2 separate regions of the Homo sapiens genome follow, and region 1 is linked to region 2. The links are contacts of gene promoters, found by promoter capture Hi-C in blood cells and fetal thymus (Javierre and others, 2016). All regions are on one chromosome and are shown on one strand. The core of a region is centred on a gene start or on the middle of the fragment in contact, and the rest is flanking DNA. Distances in the headings are between cores, read along the strand shown.

What was found. The method cuts DNA at HindIII sites, captures the fragments that hold promoters and counts their contacts. A CHiCAGO score of 5 or more calls a contact.
Region 1: a fragment that was not itself captured here is called in contact with the fragment with the promoter of TEX12 in region 2 in 2 of 17 cell types (neutrophils and megakaryocytes); the score reaches 8.6 in neutrophils.

The regions. Positions count from the first base shown.
Region 1 is chr11:111,930,874-111,934,368 of GRCh38, reverse strand. It overlaps a transcript of DIXDC1 not described here. Among named protein-coding and RNA genes, the nearest start is that of DIXDC1, 4.7 kb to the left of the region's middle. The HindIII fragment of the contact is 7,539 bases long and covers 1-3,495 here.
Region 2 is chr11:112,164,903-112,168,675 of GRCh38, reverse strand. It overlaps TEX12 (testis expressed 12), which reads right to left and starts at 1,304. Exons shown (of 5, transcript NM_031275.4): 1 at 1,189-1,304. It overlaps TEX12-AS1 (TEX12 antisense RNA 1), which reads left to right and starts at 1,533. Exons shown (of 3, transcript XR_001748384.2): 1 at 1,533-1,613; 2 at 2,500-2,600; 3 at 3,157-3,314. The HindIII fragment of the contact is 2,594 bases long and covers 1-2,027 here.

The DNA of each region.
Region 1 (3,495 bases), core at 489-2,988, 230 kb after region 2:
CCTCAGTCCTGCATTATTTTGACAATAATGGCAGACATTTCCCCCACAAACTAAAAGCTACCCAAATATCTATATATAACAGTAATAATAGCAAAATTGAGCTTTTACTGTGTGCCAAACCCTGTACTCAGCACTTAGTATTAGCTCATTTGACTGTCACAATTACCATAAACAGTAGGATTTTTACATATAAAGAAAGAGAGGTTTGGAGAAGTAATTTGTCACAGACCCAATAGCTACTAAATGGTGAAGCCAAAGTCCAGGTTCTTAACCATTATGCAATACTGTCATATGAAGAATGCAACATTACATTACATAAGAATGCAAGATTACATTACAAAAATGTAAATCTATTTTTACTTGAAGGAATGAATGAGCCAGTGGGAGAAACATTAATCACGTCTGTTAATAAATAGAGTAAGATGTTAGCCTAAGTAAGACTTTGAGCCTTAAAATAAAACCATCATTTGGTGAAAATATTGCCTGTGACTTCTCTCTGCATAAAAATAAGAAGTGTGAAATTCAAATCTATATAAAATGTAACACAACTATTATGGCCAATAATTCATGACTATAAAGAAACAGAAAGGCAGTTTGAATAAACAAATAATTACAATTGTCAATAAAAATATTTTAAATGACCCTTGGAATAATGTCTTTTTTTTTTTTTTTTTTTTGAGAGAGAGAGAGACAAGATCATCTCACTCTGCTGCCCAAGCTAGAATGCAGTGGCACAAAAAAATTACAAAATTAATACAAAAAAATACAAAAATTAGCCACTCATGGTGGTATGTGCCCATAGTCCCAGCTACTCAGGAGGCTGAGGTGGGAGGATCGCTTGAGCCCGGGAGGTTGAGGCTACAGTGAGCCGTGACTGCACCACTCCACTTCAGCCTGGGCAAGAGTGAGACACTGCCTCAAAAAAAGAGAAAAGGTCCGGGAGCGGTGGCTCACGCCTGTAATCCCAGTATATTGGAAGGCCAAGGCGGAAGGCGGGCAGATCACCTGAGGTCAGGAGTCCGAGACCAGCCTGACCAACATGGAGAAACCCCCTCCCTACTAAAAATACAGAATTAGCCGAGCATGGTGGCGCATGCCTGTAATCCCAGCTAATCTGGAGGCTGAGGCAGAAGAATCGCTTGAACCTGGGAGGTGGAGGTTGAGGTGAGCCGAGATCACACCATCGCACACCAGCCTGGGCAACAAGAGCGTAACTCCGTCTCAAAAAAAAACCAAAAGAAAACTCTAAATGGTCTAGCTTGTTCTATACTGTGTCATTTAGTACTTAATTATACGTAATTTAGGAATGTGAATCTTTATCTCTTTTACTGTATTCTCAAGCCAAATATAAATAATTTTTAGTATCCTGTATTTTCCTCTCATTCATTCATACATTGTTTCATTAAACATCCATTAAATAGATACTGAGCACCTCTTATGAGTCATTATATGCCAGGTCTTATTCTTTTAGCAAAAACTTGAATAACTGACAGTTACACATAAATATACACATAACACATGGGGCAAGAAACAAGACTGGAGGGAAGAATAGTAAAAGGAAGACTAGTAAAACTGAGAATCCGATGACTAGTATGTGAGGAAAGAGTATACATGATGAATGTGACAGACTGAGTGGGCAGAAGAAGGGAGAAAGACAGAATGGTGAAAGACTAGAGTAGGATGTCGCCAAAGTAATCACCAGATGCTAGTGCTTAATATAAACCACACCAAAGCAGATATGTGAAAATATTCTACATGATTTTTTCTTTTTTTTTTTTTTTTGAGACGGAGTCTCGCTTCTGTCGCCCAAGCTGGAGTGCAGTGGAGCGATCTCGGCTCACTGCAAGCTCCACCTCCCAGGTTCACGCCATTCTCCTGCCTCAGCCTCCCAAGTAGCTGGGACTACAGGCGTCCGCCACCACGCCCGGCTAATTTTCTACATGATTTTTTTAACCTATTCCTGGGTTATGGATTTTTTTTCTTTTTTCACATGAAGTTTTAAAATTCACATTTCAAAAGTTATCTGCCAGTGGCCAGGCGTGGTGGCTCACGCCTGTAATCCCAACACTTTGGGAGGCCGAGGCAGGAGGATCACTTGAAGTCAGGAGTTGAGAGACCAGTCTGGCCAACATGGTGAAACCCCATCTCTACCAAAATAAAAAATAAAAAAATTAGCCAGGCGTGGTGTCCTACGCCTGTAGTCCCAGCTGCTCTGGAGGCTGAGGTGGGAAAATCACTCAAACCCGGGAGGCAGAGGTTGCAGTGAGCTGAGATCGTGCCACTGCACTCCAGCCTGGGAACAGAGTGAGACTCTGTCTCAAAAAAAAAAAAAAAAAAAAAAGGTTATCTGCCAGCTAGCCTGTGGGTGAGTATTATATTAAGACTAGCGACATCTGGTGGATATTTTGGAAGTGACACTTGAGTTTCTCTACGACTGCACTGAAAATGCACCCCTATGCCTCTGGGCTATCAGTTGATCAGGTGTCAGAGCTCCACATCAGTAATTACACTAACATCAAATCATCTTTCTGCAAGATTCAAGGTCTCATTGCAACAGGTAGCCTGATTTCTATCAAGGACCTAACTCCTAACTGATGTCCAGCTGCCTTCTGAAAGATGTATACAAAATCTGACGCTACAATTGTTGTACGAGGTAATTTATTATTTTAAATGTTGACAGTCTTTGATGTAGTCTTTTTTTAATTATTTATTTATTTATTTATTTTGGGATGGAGTCTCAATCTGTCACCCAGGCTGGAGTGCATTGGCACGATCTCAGCTGACTGCAACCTCTGCCTCCCGGGTTCAAGTGATTCTCCTGCCTCAGCCTCTCGAGCAGCTGGGATTACAGGCGTCCGCCACCACGTCCAGCTAATTTTTGTTTTTTTAGTAAAGATGGGGTTTCACTATGTTGGCCAGGCTGGTCTCAGACCTCAGGTGATCCACCCCCCTCAGCCTCCCAAAGTGCTGGGATTACAGGCGTGAGCCACCGCACCTGGCCTGACATCAGTCTTTAAAAAAATTTTTTTTGAGACAGTGTCTCACTCTATTGCCCAGGCTAGAGTGCAGAGGCACAATCACAGCTCACTGCAGCCTCGACCTCCCAGGCTCAAGCAATCCTCCCACCTCATTCAGCCTCCTGAGTAGTTGGGACTACAGGTACATGCCACCACACCCAGCAAATTTTTAAATTTTTTGTAGAAAGGGGGGGTCTCGGCCAGTCACGATGGCTCACACCTGTAATCCCAGCACTTTGGGAGGCCGAGGCAGGTAGATCATTTGAGGTCAGGAGTTCGAGACCAGCCTGATCAACATGGTAAAACCCCATCTCTACTAAAAATACAGGAATTAGCTGGGCATGGTGGTGGGCACCGGTAATCCCAGCTGCTCGGGAGGCTGAGGCAGGAGAATCGCTTGAACCCAGGAGGCGGAGGTTGCAGTGAGCCAAGATGGTGCCACTGAACTCCAGCCTGGGCAATAAGAATGAAACTCCAT
Region 2 (3,773 bases), core at 55-2,554:
GGAAGCTGAGGTGAGAGAATCGCTTGAACCCAGGAGAGGGAGGTTGCAGTGAGCCGAGATTGTGCCATTGCACTCCAGCCTGGGCAACAGAGCGAGACTCCACCTCAAAAAAAAAAAAAGGATTCTTCTATCTTCACAAAATCTTAATGTTTAAACAGGTCTTACAGTTCATCTAATTCAATCTCATTTTTTACAAGTGAGAAAACAGGGACAGTGACGGTGGATCAAGTGACACCAGTAAGACTGAGCTAAATTAGAACCGAGATCTCACTCGAGTCTGAGGTTATTCCCACTGTCCAACCTTACTTTAAAGTAGCTTCAAATTTTACTTTTACTTTTCCATAAATTCGGAAGGGATTTTCCCTAGGAGTCCAAATGTTGAAACCTGGAAGGGTATAGTCTCTGTGTCTTTGAGATGAGGGGAGCCCTGTCCATATTCAAGTTATCAATTGACTTTGTTGTTTTTGAGAAACGATGCTGATTTGGGTAACTTTAACACATCTGTTTGATTAGTCCTATAAAATATGCATATATAGAAGACAGAAAGAGCAACAACAAATTTGAATGATGCTTGTTAAGTAAATTCTGTATCGTACGTCTCCATTCCTGCCAGTACCTTTATAGTATGTAAGTTTACGTGCTGTAATAGTATTAATAGTATCTAGAAAATACTACACATGCACAGCAGTGCTAACTTTGCCTTGGGAGTTGGAAAATACTTCAGAGAAGCCAACAGGCAGATTTTTCTCTCTTCCCTTCCCCTTCTAATTTTCCCTTTCCCCTTCACCCCCTTCTCTTCTCTCCCCAAGTAACACTGTGCACCTATGTCAAACGAAAACTTATAATCAAGTAACTGTTTCTGCAAAAATAAGTTCGTTTTCCTGTCATGGCTCAAGGCCTCAGCAGATCCAGGCCTGGTGGACGGGCTGGTCTTCGTCGTGTGCCAAACACTGACCACTGCCCTGGCTCTGCCATCTTAGGCTTAGTGACCTGGCTGTTACTAAGCACTGTCCCCTCTGCCCCATGCAGCTGTCTCCTTCTAGTCTTCTCCCTCTTCTCAACGCGATCCTAGCCCCTCAGGCCATTTCACCTCCATTTTCCCTCACTTCCCGCCGCCCCTCCGCACTTCCTCCCTACTGTTGTTTCCGCCCCACTAGAGCCCCTCAGAGGAAGTTTCCATCCTCGCACCCTTCCTTGTGTCACAGTCCGTCACATTCTCACAGGCGCCCATCCCTCCAGCCCCACCCCAAGGCCAATGTACTTCGCGGTATGGGGACCTTCCTCGTCAGCGAACGCGAGGGAGTGAAGACCCCGGGCGCGGGGTGCTCGGACTTCGGGGGTGGAGGTGGGAAGCGCGCCGCACTCCCAGCAGCCCCTGCACGAGTCACGTGACAGCTCTCCCACCACCACCCCCCCCAACTTCCCCACCGTAGCCTCCCAGAGCCAGGCCCCACGGAAAGGCAGCTTTTTCCCGGTTTTCTCCCGCTCTTTCCCCTCCACTTGGAATACTCGTGAAACAAAAATCTCTCCCTGCCACCCTGTGTGTGTTTGAACCAGGAAAAAATCTGAAACTGGTCAAGAAAGAACAAGGAAGACTTGCCAAAGCAAGGCCGGTGTGTGTCCCAGCAGCTTAGAATCTCAGCAAAGGAACACAAAATAGCACATCCACGGCCTCTTTTCGAGTAAAATTTACTTGGTTTGTTTGCAGGAAGGGTTTAAAACTGCGTTTGCAGATGCTCTGTTTGCAGGAAGGCTTTAATCACGTGTTCCCCTGGCCCACAAGCAAGGCTTTTAGATCCAGAGCCTCAGTTACTGCCCCCTCTTCCTCTTTGGTGCAACCAAACGTTCAGAATCACGCCTTCTTAGAAAATTCTTCCCCGGGTGTGTCAATAAGTTAAGTCTAATTGGCAACAGCTATCAAAAAGTGTTGCATAACACACATGGCTCACATAATTGTAGCTTTGCCTCATCGGGTGCTTTAATGCGGAGGCTTTGACCTGCAATTTCAAAGATATACATTCCAAGCTTACGCCCAGTTAGTGGATGTGGAAGAAAAAAAAAAGCAAATTACCTCATAACACAAAGGTCAATAACACACATCCATAAGCTCCAGGTACAAAATCTTACATCTTAGAGAACTATATTTAACATTTACATACATTACTAAGGTTTTTTTTTTCCTTTTGCTTGATTAAATGTTAGTTATCATTAAGTCTTGGAAGTATTCTGTGTGTGTATATTTATTTGCTGTTTGTGAAGAAGCCGGTTGTTTTAAATAAGTTCCTAGAAAATAAGCGCTCAATGTGTTTAATCTGAGTTGCTAATATTGTGAAATATAGGCCACATAATACTAGCCTAGATAACTATGGCGAAGTAAGGAGTCTCAAACACTGTCCCAGAACAATAGCAATCTGTGTTGAATTTTTACCCTCTGTGGTAAAATGAAGGGAAAAGGAATGAAGTTTTAGTTTGCCTTAATTTTTATCTTTATTGTTTCAGACTCTTCAGCAGTATAAAGTTTTCATCAAGTCAAATATATTCACTTTAAAGTGACTGTGCTTTATTCTGATACCATGTCCTTCCTAATTTGGGGGGCACAGGTGAGATAAGTTTTATGAAATAAAAAGATTAAAAATTCTTACATTTTTAGTGTCCTTCCTTGGTAAAATGTAGAGTTGTCCACTGTGTTTATCTCCTCCTCCTTATTATCATGGTTGCTGTTATTATTTTTAATGGTTCATTAAACCCAAGGGTCTGGGAAATACTCATGGAATTCATCTCACAGCCTTCACACTGTATGATATTTAAACAGGTGGTTGTCCATCTGATTCTTAAAATATTTCCAAGAAAAATGATTCCACCTAATGCATAAATGCTTTCATCAGATTAAGAGAACACCATGGACATTTTATTTTCTTTTATTTTTTAAATATTAACTTCCATTGCATAAGCTAAATGGGTAGGAATAAGTGAGATGATATTGTTATCTAGAGCTTTAAAATATTCAAAGGGCTGTCATCATTATCTCATTTAATCTTTGAAAACAACTCTATGAAGTACAAAGGACACTGAGACATTTGTTGCTCTATATCAAAGAAAAAAGTGTTTGTCCCAAAACTTCAAAATGTGTAAATTACACATTCTGCATCTTTACAGCTGGAGAAAATTCACTGGCAATGGAATATTTAAAATTAGAGCTTGCTTAGTGTGCTGCTTCTGATCACTACTTGATCCCACTTCGTGCTTTCATGTTAATTGGCCCAATTGGACTCTACAGTTGGAAGGTGAAAACTTACTATTTCAACTTGAGTCACGTATGTATTCTTATCATATACTTCTTAAAGGTACTATTTTTTTTCTTCTGATAGTCACCACACCAAGCACTTCCAGCCACCCTGCCACAGACTTCCTTTGTAATCACTGTTGAAGGACATGATGTTTTTATGACTTCCCGAAATGAAAACCCTATCTTGTTTTTAAAACAAACAAACCAACAAAAAGTAGTGTTTATGTAAGCATTTTGTTCCCTGACTCTAGGAACCCCTCTGTTTTTATATCAACTCTGTACTGGCAAAACACAAAAACAAAATGCCACCTTGCTAATTCCCTTCCTAGCAAAGTAATACAGTTTAGCACATGTTCAAGAAAAAAATGGCTAAGAAATTTTGTTTCCACTAATTATTTTCAAGACTGTGATATTTACACTCTGCTCTTCAAACGTTACATTTTATAAGACTATTTTTTAACATGTTGAACATAAGCCCTAAATATAT